Regions from separate parts of the Homo sapiens genome. Here all the other regions are linked to region 2. Evidence: promoter capture Hi-C in 16 types of primary human blood cells and fetal thymus (Javierre and others, 2016). All regions are on one chromosome and are shown on one strand. Each heading gives the region's core, a stretch centred on a gene start or on the middle of the fragment in contact. The rest is flanking DNA. Distances are from core to core; before and after follow the strand shown. Region 1 overlaps WDHD1 (WD repeat and HMG-box DNA binding protein 1). Region 2 holds the start of CGRRF1 (cell growth regulator with ring finger domain 1). Region 3 overlaps GCH1 (GTP cyclohydrolase 1). Region 4 has its middle 49 kb from the start of MIR4308. Region 5 overlaps SAMD4A (sterile alpha motif domain containing 4A).

The links. The method cuts DNA at HindIII sites, captures the fragments that hold promoters and counts their contacts. A CHiCAGO score of 5 or more calls a contact.
Region 1: a contact is called between a fragment that was not itself captured here and the fragment with the promoter of CGRRF1 in region 2, in 1 of 17 cell types (M0 macrophages). The highest score is 5.4, in M0 macrophages.
Region 3: a fragment that was not itself captured here is called in contact with the fragment with the promoter of CGRRF1 in region 2 in 1 of 17 cell types (M1 macrophages); the score reaches 5.6 in M1 macrophages.
Region 4: a contact is called between a fragment that was not itself captured here and the fragment with the promoter of CGRRF1 in region 2, in 3 of 17 cell types (M0 macrophages, M1 macrophages and endothelial precursors). The highest score is 7.9, in M0 macrophages.
Region 5: a contact is called between a fragment that was not itself captured here and the fragment with the promoter of CGRRF1 in region 2, in 16 of 17 cell types (M1 macrophages, activated CD4 T cells, megakaryocytes and 13 more). The highest score is 12.1, in M1 macrophages.

Annotation. Positions count from the first base shown.
Region 1 is chr14:55,003,398-55,006,097 of GRCh38, forward strand. All of the region lies in intron 7 of WDHD1 (WD repeat and HMG-box DNA binding protein 1), which reads right to left. It also overlaps the pseudogene RPSAP13. Among named protein-coding and RNA genes, the nearest start is that of WDHD1, 22 kb to the right of the region's middle. The HindIII fragment of the contact is 1,352 bases long and covers 767-2,118 here.
Region 2 is chr14:54,508,523-54,511,315 of GRCh38, forward strand. It overlaps CGRRF1 (cell growth regulator with ring finger domain 1), which reads left to right and starts at 1,384. Exons shown (of 6, transcript NM_006568.3): 1 at 1,384-1,541. The coding sequence starts at 1,438. RefSeq lists silencers at 1,045-1,474, 1,274-1,459 and an enhancer at 1,635-1,864. The HindIII fragment of the contact is 20,688 bases long and covers 590-2,793 here.
Region 3 is chr14:54,855,931-54,858,669 of GRCh38, forward strand. The region is part of intron 3 of GCH1 (GTP cyclohydrolase 1); the gene reads right to left. Among named protein-coding and RNA genes, the nearest start is that of MIR4308, 21 kb to the right of the region's middle. The HindIII fragment of the contact is 202 bases long and covers 1,335-1,536 here.
Region 4 is chr14:54,827,429-54,830,128 of GRCh38, forward strand. No RefSeq gene overlaps it. Among named protein-coding and RNA genes, the nearest start is that of MIR4308, 49 kb to the right of the region's middle. The HindIII fragment of the contact is 1,921 bases long and covers 421-2,341 here.
Region 5 is chr14:54,791,575-54,794,274 of GRCh38, forward strand. SAMD4A (sterile alpha motif domain containing 4A) reads left to right here. Exons shown (of 13, transcript NM_015589.6): 13 at 1-1,738. Among named protein-coding and RNA genes, the nearest start is that of MIR4308, 85 kb to the right of the region's middle. The HindIII fragment of the contact is 178 bases long and covers 1,342-1,519 here.

The DNA of each region.
Region 1 (2,700 bases), core at 193-2,692, 490 kb after region 2:
CTACTCGGGTTGGGGGCTGAGGTGGGAGGATGAACTGAGTCCGGGAGGCAGAGGTTGCAGTGAATCGTGATCATGCCACTGCACTCCAGCCTGGGCAACAGAGTGAGACCATGTCTCAAAAAAAAGGAAAGAAAAAATAATTTTAAAAGCCAATTGTGTATATATGTATAAAAAAGAAAGAAAAACGAACTATATATATATAGTTGCCCAGGCTGGAGAGAAGTAGTGCCATCTTGGCTCACTGCAACCTCTGCCTCCCAGGTTCAAGCAATTCTCCTGCCTCAGCCTCCCGAGCAGCTGGGACTACAGGCGCACACCACCACGCCTGGCTAATTTTTGTATTTTCAGTAGAGACGGGGTCTTATCATGTTGGCCAGGCTGGTCTCGAACTCCTGACCTCAGGGGATCCACTCGCCTCAGCCTCCCAAAGTGCTGGGATTATAGGCGTGAGCCACTGTGCCCAGCTACCAACTGTATATTTTTTATGTACACTGTCTGCTCATGTCTTTGCTCATCTTTCTAATGGGTTTCTATTGATTTGTAAGAATACTTTGCACACTATGGAAATTAGCTCTGTTTTATTGTTTCAAATTTTCTTCCCCAGTTTGTCATTTGTACTGTGACTAATATTTTGTACCATGCAAAACTATTTACTTTTTATACAATCTACTTTATTAATTTTATTTCCTGAAAAATTTCAAAAGAATAGAAAAGTTGAAATAATAATATAGTAAATACCTATATATAGACTCATCATGTAGAAGCAAGCTTCCAAGATGGTCCTCAAAGATTCCCACTCCACTTCCTGGTATTCATATCCTTGTGCTAATACATTTGCTAAATCTCCTTTTCTCTACCTTTATATACACTAACTTTCCATATACATTTGGTTCTATTTATCTCTTTAACAGGTATGTGTCTATTCATAACTCAATAGCAAACTTATAATTCTCATAACTTTATGTTTTATTATCTAACTGAATTATTTGCATCACTTTTCTTTTTCAAAACTTTTCATTTTCCACATGGACTTTCCCTTTTTTTTTAGCAACCAATGTTTATTTTCTTTTTTTGAGATAGAGTCTCGCTCTATCACCTGAGCTAGAGTGCAGTATTGTGATCTTGGCTCACTGCAACCTCCGCCTCCTGGGTTCAAGCAATTCTTATGCCTGAGACTCCCAAGTAGCTGGGATTACAGGCATGTGCCACCATGCCCAGCTAATTTCTATATTTTTAGTAGAGACAGGGTTTCGCCATGTTTCCCAGGCTGGTCTTGAACTCGTGGCCTCAACTGATCCACCTGTCTCAGCCTCCCAAAGTGCTGGGATTATGGGCGTGAGCCAGCGAGCCCGACCCAATGTTTATTTTTCATCAACCTTATTTCCATGTTGCTTAAGAGCCTGTGCAAGAACAGCTTAAGATCACTCAGTGGTTGTTCCTATGCATTCAGTGGTCTGAGCAGTGGGGAGCCGCAGACCAGTCTTCTGTGGCAGGCTGAGCACTCCAGTTTTCAGGAGGGAACTGCTAAATAGGCACAGAGGGCACCTGCACACCATCAGACCAGTCTGCAACCTCAGGTTGAGGAGCACCGAACTCAGGAGCTGGAGTAGTCCATTCACCCTGAAATTCCTCCTTGGTCACAGCCTTTTCAGCAGCAGGCTGCTCTTCTTTTTCAATCTCCTCAGGAACACTGTAGAAGTAGAGATCAGGCATGACCTCCCACAGGAAATGGTGCCACACATGCGAACTTCCTGGATCGGCATCCACCACATCAATCCCACTGAGTGAGCTCCCTTGCTGTTGCATGGGATGGTAGTGTCCACATAGCACAGAGGAAAATCTGTGTGACACAGAGCAATGGTAGGTACGTTAACATAAGATGCCTCTGTGAGAGGCTGGTGATCAGCACTGGGATTAGTCACCATAAGAAGCTGTGGCTCCTAAAAGGCTGCCTGGATCTGGTTAATGAAAGTTCCAGGAGTGAAGCAGCCAGCAACTGGAGTGACTCCAGTGGCAGCAGCAAACTTCAGCATGGCCTTCGGACCAGTATTCCTGGATGATATGACACTGACATTGAAAGAGTTTTCAACAGCAACAATGGCACAAGCTCCCAGGAGAAGCTTCTCCCAGGTCCTCTTCAGATTTATGATGTAGATGCCAACACTTTTCCTTTTATAGATGTACTGTCCCATCTGGAAGACAAAGCTGGTGCTACCTAAGTGGGTTCCTCCTGCAAGGAACTTAAGGACATCCTCCTCCTTCATTTGCAGGACATAGAGGTTCTAGACATTGTGAAAGTTTCCCTTTAAGTTACGATGGGAATCCAGAACAACATCATAAGGATCCTTCTCTGGGTAGTGCAGAAAGCCCTCATGGGCTTTAGAATCAGCTCAATTTGGTCCTCCTAGACATCTTATTGGTACTTTATTTTACTTTGTTTTCTTTTTTTTTTCCTTAGAGCCTTCAGATGAGACATTTTATTTTTAAGGCAGGGTTTTGCTTTGTTGCCTAGGCTGGAGTACAGTGACAAGATCATAGCCCACTGCAGCCTTAATCTCCTGGGCTCAAGTGATACTCCTGCCTCAGTCTCCCAAGTAGATGGGACTACAGGAATATGCCACCACACCTGGCTAATTTTCATTTTTTTGTGGAGACGAGGTCTTGCTATGTTGCCCAGGCTGGTGTCAAACTCCTGAGCTC
Region 2 (2,793 bases), core at 134-2,633:
TTTAAAATGTACATTTTTTAAAACCATAGTTCCACCTCTAGTAATTTATCCTAAGGAAATACTTTAGCTGTAGGGATGTTCATTGCAGTGTTATTTATAGCAATGAAAAATTCTCCAACAGTTGAGGGCTGATTAAAGTATATATTTTCACAAATCAGATATATAGTAATTAAAAATTGTGTTGTAGAAGCAAGCTTCTCAAACAGTGCTGCTCCAGAGACTACGTGCTCATTTGCCAAGGAATATGTGAGGCCATAGGACAAACTTAGTTCATCTTTCTCAACACGAATTTTACTGGTGATTTAGGAGTGTGACAGAGGCTACTAGTTAACTATCCCAATGTCCATTCTCTTTCCTCCTCAGTAACAAAACTCTTGATTTGTACCAGGGTGTGTTGCTGCTCACGAATAATAAGACTACATATCCCCATTCTCTGATGTGGCTAGATGTGGCTTTAGGAGTAAATGCAAACCAACGAGGTGTCAATGAACTGTTATGAAAGACTTTCAGGGAGGCCACCTTGATGGAGCTGACTCACAGGGTTGAGACAAGGGAGTGACCATTTAGCTACTTTCAGTAATTTTTAAAAAGCTTCTGTGTGATTTAAAAAGTTTTTTAAAAATTATTCTTAAAGTGGAAACAAATACAGTTTCAAATGTTTGGCTAATTCTAATTTGAGGAGTACAAGAAGAGGAGAAAAGGAGGGGGATGTGGGAGGAAGCGGATGCTTTATTTCTAAGAGAATCTTGGATAAGCAATGCTGATTTTCCTCTATGATTAAGTCCAATCTGAAAAGGCTGACAAGTCTCGTATAAATTGCTTGTGGTAGAGACTCCTTTTTTTGTGTTTTCACTGTGCTTATGGTTATTTCATTTTGTAGAATCCAAGATGCCCGCCCTCCTCCTCCTCCTCCTCCACCCTCTCCCAAATTTGCCTAAGATATAATAGGCAGGGTTTCAGGATTTAGAAACGATGCACGTAGATTTCAGACTGCGCCTCTCTCTGACATCAGAAAACCTACATTGCCTAAGGCTGGCACAGAGTTGGCCCCAAAGTCTACTTAGAATTTGCCGGCGGAACAGCAATGACCACTGGGCCACAGCGCTTAAGACGCCCGCTGGGTACCAATCCTGGGAGTCGGGGGCGGTGCGAGTCGGGCCCCCCCCATCCCAGGTCTGCGTAGCCAATAGCTCGGGACGGGAGCGGGAGGGGCGTGGCGTGTCCGGCAGGGGGCGCCGTGATTGGCACGCCAGCTCCCGCTGTCCGCGAGGCTGCCCTAAAGTCTAGCTCATGAGAACCCCAGGCAAGTGCGGACCTACAAAGTTTGTCCGCTCCGGGGCACTGTAGTGGCTTTTACCCTGGCCGGGCGGGCGGGGCTCAGCCGGGCTGGGCTGGGCTCCGCGGCTGGAGCCGGGCTCTACCCAGAGCAAGACCCTGATGGCTGCGGTGTTTCTGGTAACGCTTTATGAATACTCGCCGCTTTTCTACATCGCGGTGGTCTTTACCTGCTTCATCGTGACCACCGGCCTGGTATTGGGATGGTAAGTGTCCCAGGGGTGAGAGACGAAGGGGCGGATACCGCCAGAGTGGGGTCGCGACGAGCAGCAGGGGGCACCGGAGCCGGAGGGCCGCGGGCCGGAGGACGTCGGGGATTCGGTGTCCCCGGGTGCCTAGAACTCCGACTTTCTCTGGGAGGAAAACAAGGTGGACGCTGCACCTGCGTCACTGCCCTGCATCACCGTTTGGTCCGTGTCGCTGGGGCATCTTGGGGTGGTACCGCATTGGGGTGTTTTACTCAGCTTTGTTTCTAGGCGATAAAGCAGCCAGGAAGGGCTTGGGCTTGGGCTTGGTGTTGGGAGAAAGTGCTTCTCTAGTAGGCTTCTGTCCCGGATTCGGGCCTACTGTGTGTCCTGGATGAGTTAGTCACCTGTGCTACAGTGCACAGACTGGACAGTAAGCGAGGTTAACAGTTGTGATTCTGACCTGAATGGAGCCCTTAGCCTCAGATCTTTCAGAGTAACTTGTAACTGAACTGTTACCGTTTGAGAATTTAATGGTTTCTGTATACATTCCACACCTTTTGAAGTAATATTTAGTCGATAGAATTGTAAAATCATAATTTTAGAGCTGGAAGAGACCTTAGAAATATGTAACACCGAGGGTAGGACAGTTGCCTATTGGAGACAAGGAGAATGGTCTGTTAGATAACCGCTGAGCAATTCTTCTAGCCTAGAGGTTCAATTTCTCTCTTGAGGAGATGCTATTGTATCATGTTTAGACAAGCCTTGTAAATAACGAGTTGAAACCGTGTAACTAGCCCACAACAGTTTTTCTAGGCTGCAGCCTCCAAAATCCCTTTGAGATGATAATAGTTACAAAAAGATCAAACAGCAGTTCTAAGTGGATAACAGCCATGGTCTGAAGAGGTCAGAGGGGACTCTGTTGAAGAGGGACATGAGCTGGATTTTGGAGAATGAGCATTTTGAAAAATAAATGGAGTTAAATGTATATAGTAGGGAAGAAAAAGCATCTCAGAGAAGACAGCATGAGCATAGGGGCAGAGAACATGTTAGTGAATAAAGAAGGCTACGTAAAACGAGTTTTAAAATAGCCTTTGGTCACATATATGTGATTGCCTTAAAGAACACGGGCCCTTGTCGGTTTCTGAAAATATATGCCATCTTTAGGAAGTGACAAAAGTTTTAACCTGTCCACACTGCTCCTCACCCTACCAGCAATAGAGCATAGAATTCCTTGCCTTGTATGTGGGTGAGGATTGGAAATACAAATTCC
Region 3 (2,739 bases), core at 186-2,685, 350 kb after region 2:
TAGTTCTAACTCTGGGGAATGAAAATAGGTAAGAAAAGTTTTCACTTTATTCACTCATTTGTATTTAAATGGTATGTTGCTTTTATAGTCAAAAAAGAAAAAAAAATACTGCTCCCTCTGTAATCTAATACTCACCTCACTTACTCTTACTTCCATCAGTCAATCTGGTTCCCATCCACTGGAATAGGCCTTGCTCCTACCCTCTGACTGGTCTTTGCTCATGCATTAACTATACCTAGAGAAACTTCTCCCCCATTTAGAATTCTGCTCATCCCTCCACCTCCAGGTCTATTCACCTGCCAGGCCACAGCCATCATGGCTCCTCTGAACTTGGAGCTACAGCAGGCATTTCCATGGCACTTGCAGTCTTGCCCTGTGCACTCTCCTTGAGGGTGGCTGCCATGTCCTGCTTCTTTAGCCTCCACAGTAGCTGGCACAGTGCCCACCCAACAGGTCAGCCATGGCTACCTGAGATACTACAACTCTAAATTCAAGATTTCGTACATTCACTCAATTATTTATTTATTTATTTATTTTTAGTGACACAGAGTCTTGCTCTGTCACGAGACTGGAGTGCAGTGGTGAAATCTCGGCTCACTGCAACCTCCGCCTCCCAGGTTCAAGCGATTCTTCCATCTCAGCCTCCGAAGTAGCTGGGATTACAGGCGCATGCTACCATGCCCTGCTAATTTTGGTATTTTTAGTAGAGATGGGGTTTCACCATGTTGGCCAGGCTGGTCTGGAACTCCTGACCTCAAGTGATCTGCCCACCTCGGCCTCCCAAAGTGCTGAGATTACAGGCATGAGCCACCTCACCCAGCCGAGGCTCAGTTATTTCTAAGGGAAGAAAATGAATACATGTTCAATGGCTTTTCAGCAACAAAAGAAAGTTCTATTCAAACTAAGTTTATTCTAGAATTCTACTAGAGTTGAGCCAGATCAACTCACTTCTGGCATTTTCTTGTTACTTAAGGCTTTACTGCTTGATATTTGACTTCACTGGCACTGAAAGGTCATTCATTTAAAGGCAAGCATATAACAAACTTCATATATAAGATTAAAATGAGCAGTGAAGTTTTGCTAAGACATTCAGCTTTTATTCCTCTTCATTCTCTAAATATTCTTACTTCTTATAAGGAATAAGTAGTTGGATAAAATCTTAGTCTTCTTTTCTATTTAATAGACTCTTTATTCAAATTTTTTGCAAAATATTTGAAAGCAACATACACTTGGTTCTTTGGCTTCATGTTCCATTTTATTCTTAAATTTTAATCCTATTAGTCTAAGGACAAATCCCCATGCTAATAATCAACTCCTTTGTATTGTTTCATAAAAGCTTAATTATTTGAGATCTTTTCCTTTCACTTGGAAAGGAAATAACTAAGATTATTTCCTTCTACCACCAGGTTGCCATTTATTGTATGATCTCACTGAATCACTCAAGAGTCCATTTCCCATAAAGTGTTAATCATGATCAACAGTTGGTTTTTCAGAGAAGGCTGTTACATTAAGACCAAGGCCTAATGTGATCTGCCAAGCTTTTTTACACTATGAAACTATCCATTACACCTTTCACATATGGACAGTCTGTTATAGGCATCAGCAGTGCTGGAATTTCTATATGGGCAAGGTATAGGGTTAGCAATCTTGCTGACAGGGAGGCCCAGGGGACTGGGCCTACAGCTATGTTTGCACAGTAAGCATGCTGATTTTACTTAGACTGTATATTATAAAACCATAAGAATAACCAATTTTAGTAAAGATACTTTTACTCACAGTTGACATGAAATTGGTTTAATACATCATTAGTTGAGGGTAAGTTACTGGGAAGGGAGTCGTTAATAAAAATTATAGTAAGATTAATTACTCCCAATCACTACCAACACACTTTTTCTCAGCAACTTTTCAGCACTGCCACCAGGGATGGATCACACGCAAGCAGCCAGAATGTTTCTGGATTTGTGCTAAGAGCCTTATTCCAGTGAAGCAATTACAGCTATGATATAATATTCTTTCATGGTGCCAAGCAGCCCTATCTAATAGCAAAATAGCTGAGCAGGAATGAGGTCAGAAACTGGGGAAGTTAAATTTGTCTCTTCTACCCACTTTCTTATTGATCCCCAGAGGAAATGAATGAGAAAGTGGAAGTGAAAACAAAGTAACAGGAACAACTTTAGAGGGCAGTTGTCAGATTGCTGGAGTAGTTTTTTTTTTACAGATTCCAACACAGAATTGAGAAATATCAGGACCACCATTTCACAACTGTGTTAAATCCCAGGGCCTGCATAAAGAAACAGGAACACATCAGAGCCACAGCACAGTCAACTGGTCACAGAGACTCATTTATTCCTCTTCTTTTATTTTTATTTTTTTGAGATAGGGTCTTACTCCATCGCCCAGGCTGGAGTGCAATGGCACAATCTCGGCTCACTGCAAGCTCTGCCTCCCGGGTTCAAGTAATTCTCCTGCCTCAGCCTCCTGATTAGCTGGGATTACAGGTGTGCGCCACCACGCCCAGCTAATCTTTGTATTTTTAGTAGAGATGGGGTTTCACCATGTTGGTGAGGCTGGTCTCAAACTCCTGACCTCAAGTGATCCGCCCGCCTCAGCCTCCCAAAGTGCTGGGATTACAAGTGTGAAAGACGGCACCCGGCCGAGACTCATTTATTTCAATTATGATATGGTCACTATAACCTCAAGTTATTCAAACTTAGCTTGATTATTTTTGAAAAAAAAAAA
Region 4 (2,700 bases), core at 131-2,630, 320 kb after region 2:
GGGCATGTCTGTGGTATGTCCTCTGCCTATCTCTTCGGTCTCTATCGCCACTACTCCCCTCTCCAACATGGGATCAACCTATAATAGAGCTTTTATTCAGTGTGCTTCAAATATTTGTTTACATTACATATATCTCTCCCTAGACTTGAGGACGGGGAAGTCTCACTCATATTTATACTCCAGCATGCAACACAGTTAAACCTAAGGAAACAAAGCCTTAACAAAGGCACTTGGAAGATCTGCGTTCTCCCCATCAATGGCAACTACTGGTGACAAGGAAGGAAGCTATGGGTGCTGTCTTCTAGGGAGTCTTCTCAGGGCAGGCAGGACCTCACTTCCAGGACTCACCTGGCCTGGTCACCTGTGGGTGGAGACAGGGCCTGACATTCATGAAATCTCCTTTATGTCCAACCCTTCAGAAGCTTCTTTTGATGCCAAGGGGCCCAACTCAGAGCCCACATCTCTATGTCTATGACCTCCTACATTATTTTTGTCTTGGTAATGAAATTTCCAACAATGTAATACTCACCGAAATAGAGCTTCATAGGGATGTTCCTATACTTAGACAGTAAAAACAAATGAGAATAGGGTAGAGGAAAAGGAGAAGCATGAAGTTTAACTCCTTAGAGCCCATCAAGACCTTGAAGCCCTTTAAGACAAAATTTCCATAGTTGCAAATGCTGGGGGAACTGATGCTTACCTGCTCCATGTAAATTCCTCTTTGCAGCCCAGATGGCTGGAGCTCTTTGCTATGCATGGGAGGGAACCACACAAATGTGTTAGATCTGAAGCAGGGGTTTGCAAATTATGGCTTGCTGGCCAAATCCTACCCACCATCTGTTTTTGTATGGTCCATGAGCTAAGAATGCTTTTTACATTGTTAATGAATGAAAAAAAAAAAAAGAATATTTCACGGCCACAAAAATGGCATGAAATTCAAATTTTGGTGTCCATGAATAAAGTTATATTGGAACACAGTCACATTCATTTACATATGGTTTATGGTGGATTCCACACGAGAATGGCAGAGTTGAGTAGTTATAACAGAAACCATGTGACCTGCAAAGTCTAAAAGTTTTACCATCACGCATTTTCCAGAAAAAGGTTGCCAACCCCTGATCTGAAGTACCAAACACCTGTGAATAACAGAAAACTAAAGATGCAAAATGCAGGCCAAATAAAGTTAGTGAGAGCAGTGATTCCTTTATTTCATCTAAGAATTCATTCATAGTCATGTGCCACATAAGGACGTTTTGGTCAATGATGGACCGTATATACGATGGCGGTCTCATAGGGTCCCACACCCTATTTTTAGTGTACCTTTTCTACGTTTTAGTAAGTTTAGATACACAAATACTTACCAGTGTATCACAACTGCCTACAGTATTCAGTGCAGGTTTGTAGCCTAGGAAAAATAGGCCATACTATACAGTTTAGGTGGGTAGTGAGCTATACCATCTAGGTTTGTGGAAGTAAAATCTATGATGTTCACAAAATGATGAAATCGACTAACGATGCATTTCTCAGAAGGAATCCGTGTCGTTAAGCAACACATAACTGTACTTCACTTGTATCCTTTTCTCCCAAAACATCACTTTAGTTGTAACACTCAAGGATATTTCAAATAATCATTACAGACATCCTGCTTACCCATATTCTCTTGGCTCCATATGTGTAGATATAGATATATTTTTTCACTTTTAACATAGTAAATACAGGCACCTAATTTTAAAAAATCAAATAGTGACAAACAGAAGTTTTATAATCTAAGCAAGAGTTCTTTGTCTTTCTCCCTCCCACCTCCTCTCTTAAAGAGACAATCACTTATGTCTTTTTGCTATTTCTTTGGTAGTTACTTGATAAAAAATTGTGCTTAAATTGTTCCTTCTTGATAGATGAATTTTGATGTTATCTAATCTTTGTTATGACAGATGAAGATTTAACTCATACTTCTCCTTCCTCCCAAGATAAAGGTTATCTCACAACAATTTTTAGTTAACTGAGTAATCAGTACTTACATTATGATTATGCAAATAACTTCTCACCACAGGGGCAAGTGGTAGCTCACGGTGACCTTTTTTTTTTTTTTTTTTTTTGAGAGAGGGTTTCACTCCTGGTCAAGCGATCCTCCTGCCTCGGCCTCCACATAGCTGGGACTACAGGCACATGCCACCACACCTAGCTAATTTTTAAAATTTTTTTGTGAAGATGAAATCTCATTACGTTGCCCAGGCTGGTCTGGAACTCCTGGCCTCAAGCAATCCTGCATTCTCAGCCTCCCAAAGTGCCACGGTTATCTTTCTAATTTATACTCCTTTTTGTTTTGTTCCATGTATCTGAAAGCTTTAGAAGGGGGAATGCTGTCCTGGTACCATCAGAAGTTCTAGGTCTCCAAATAATGATCTTCCCCAAATTCAGTACATTATCAGAGCAATTACATATTTAGAAAAGAGATTATGCAGCACAGATATTGCTTTAAAAATAAAAGGTCTGTTCAGAATTATAGGAATGTGAGTCTGAACTTTCCTTCCAAGTCGTAATGCCTCACTGTGGCTTTTACAGAAGGCAGAGTCTGGAATTTTTGCTTCCACTCCTAAGGGAAAGAGTAAAAAGAAAAGGGTGAGGCAGGCAGTTCTGCATCCCTCATTTCGTTGGCTTACACAACACTTTATCAAGAACAAATTCCCCCAAATGTCCATT
Region 5 (2,700 bases), core at 181-2,680, 280 kb after region 2:
CTTTTTTTAAAGAAGAAAAGCTTATTTTTCATTGACAGTGTATAGATTTATCTACTTAGTTGTGTTTTGCTATTAGTGTTTTAATTTTTTTTTTAAGTTGAGTGTTTGATAAATTTTAAGACCCTGTCCCCACCTTGTTTTGAGTCCTGTGTTGACTACAGGTATATAGCTCAATTTAAAAATCCTAAAGCAAAAGAATTTTATTTATAAAAGAATCAAACAGTTGCATGCATGAGGCTGTGAAGTCAGATATTTAGTAATAAAAGCAGCAGTGCCTTTTTTTGTATTTACCCATTGACCCCCACCAAATGCAACTGTTTTATATTAAGAAAATAGTAACAATTTTAAAATCTCAGAGTAAAATCTATTTCACTACATGCTTTTCCCCCCTTGTTCTGATTTAAGCAGTGTGTACTTGGCATCTCTACATTGTCCTAGGGACAGTGGTGTTCTACAATATTATCATGTATGATGTTTTATTGGTGCTTTTTATTCATAGTGGCTTCTTACCAGAAACAGTAGGAAGAAACACATGAACTGTGTACAAGACATGAAACATTGCTGCTGATATGTTGTTTTTTCACATGCTTTTGAGTTTTCACTTTTTAAACGAGAGCCAGCAAGCAAAATAGATGTGGCTGGGTCTGCCTGTCCGGGCGGCTCTTTGCACCGAGCTCTCAAATCCTGTGTATTGAGGGTTCCTTTTTGGTACTCAGGATTGGAGCTACAGCTGGGCCCCCCTCTCTCCCATTCGTTTGAAGAGACACTGAGGGAAACAAGGGTTTCTTTTGAGGTGTCCTTGGCTGCCTTTTACGGGATGGGAGCCTTCTCCGGATCTTTTGTTCTTCTGCACCTCTTGTAGCTACTGCCGGTGCAAGGTTGTAGATGTTATTCCCCAGGAGCCTGGGCTTGGGGGCTGAGCTGGGCTGAATGCAAAAGCATGCAACCAGAAGGCGGGCAAGGGGAGGAAAAGCAGGCCTGGCCTCATTGGTCCCCTGGAGATGTCTGTAGCAGTCAGCTCCAGCTTGGGCCTGGGGAAGCAGCCTGACCAAGGCGCTCAGGTGTGCCTGTTACAAGAAGAACCTGCAGAAGGATAATTTGCACATGGAGCTGTGATAACACTAATGTTGATTTTTTTTTTTTTTACAAGTCATCAGAGATGTTTGCAAAGTGAGTTTTATTTTTTTGTAATTCCTTTATCTTTACTTAAAGGTGAATGTGTATTCCTCTGGGAGGAATAGGAAGAAAACAGGAATGTTAATAATGTCGAACAGAAAACTTCCTCCCTTATTAATATATAATCCTCATGTATTTATGCCTAATGTAAGCTGACTTTTAAAAAGCTTTCTTTTGTTGCATGCCCTGTGCAGGCATCTGTATTGTACATGCATGCCTTTCGTCCTGTTTTCCTGTATAAAGTTAGTGAACAAAGAAATATTTTTGCCTAGTTCATGTTGCCAAGCAATGCATATTTTTTAAATTTGTCATATATGGAAAGAGCATGTTTGTTACATGTAAAAGCTTTACTGATATACAGATATACTAATGTTTGAAGATGCTGTTCTTTGCAAGTGTACAGTTTTCAAATGTTGTTACCAGTGAAACACCCTTGTGGTTTAAACTTGCTACAATGTATTTATTATTCATTTCCTCCCATGTAACTAAGAATCATGGCTATATTTCATATCAACGTTATATTGAAAGTGAAGGGAAATGATTAATACAAGGTTTTGTAACACTGGTGTGTCTTTTTCTTTTTTTCAACATACATGATTGAATAGAAAATAAGAACTGAGGCCTGGCGTGGTGGCTTATACCTGTAATCCCAACATTTTGGGAGGCTGAGGCAGGTTGGTCACTTGAGGTCTAGAGTTCGAGACCAGCTTGGCCAACATGGTGAAACCCTGTCTCTACTAAAATACAAAAAAAAAAAAAAAAAATAAGCCAGGCATGGTGGTGCATGCCTGTAATCTCAGCTGCTTGGGAGGCTGAGGCAGGAGAATCACTTGAACCTAGAAGGCAGAGGTTGCAGTGAGCCAAGATCGCACCACTGTACTCCAGCCTGGGCAACAGAGGGAAATTCTGTCTCAAAAAAAAAAAAAAAAAGACGACAAGAAGAAGAAAAGAAGAACTGAGTCAAATAGCCCCCTCAAGGAAAAACCAGAATGGGATCTCTGTTAACTATTCCCACCTGGCCATTCTGCACATGCCACATCTTTAGCTATGAGCTGCTTTTTAACAAAAATATGGAGAGAGGGTTTTAGAAATGTTTGCAGTTTGATCTGTGCCCAAAACAGCCAATAAATTTGTCACCAGACTTAGGGGCATGTTTCTAAATACAAACTCTAACTTTACAGACATTGTTGTTTATAGCTTGTTCCCCTCATTGTCTTTGAAATATTTCACACCTTAATCATGGCATCAAGAAACAGCCTCTTTGGAGCTTACCTATCCATGGCTTGAATCTCATTCTAATATTTCTAATTCCTGTACGATATACATTCTAAATATTGTGTCAGTTAAGCATATGAGTGGAGAGATGCACCTGGTTTTGAATTCTGGCTCAAGCATTCTCTAGCTGTGTGATCTTAGACAAGTTACTTATGTCTCTAAGCCTTGGGTTTGTTTTTTGGCTTATGATATTCAAAGTTTATATAATTAAACCTCTAATAAAAGGTGAAAACAAAAGAAAACATATGA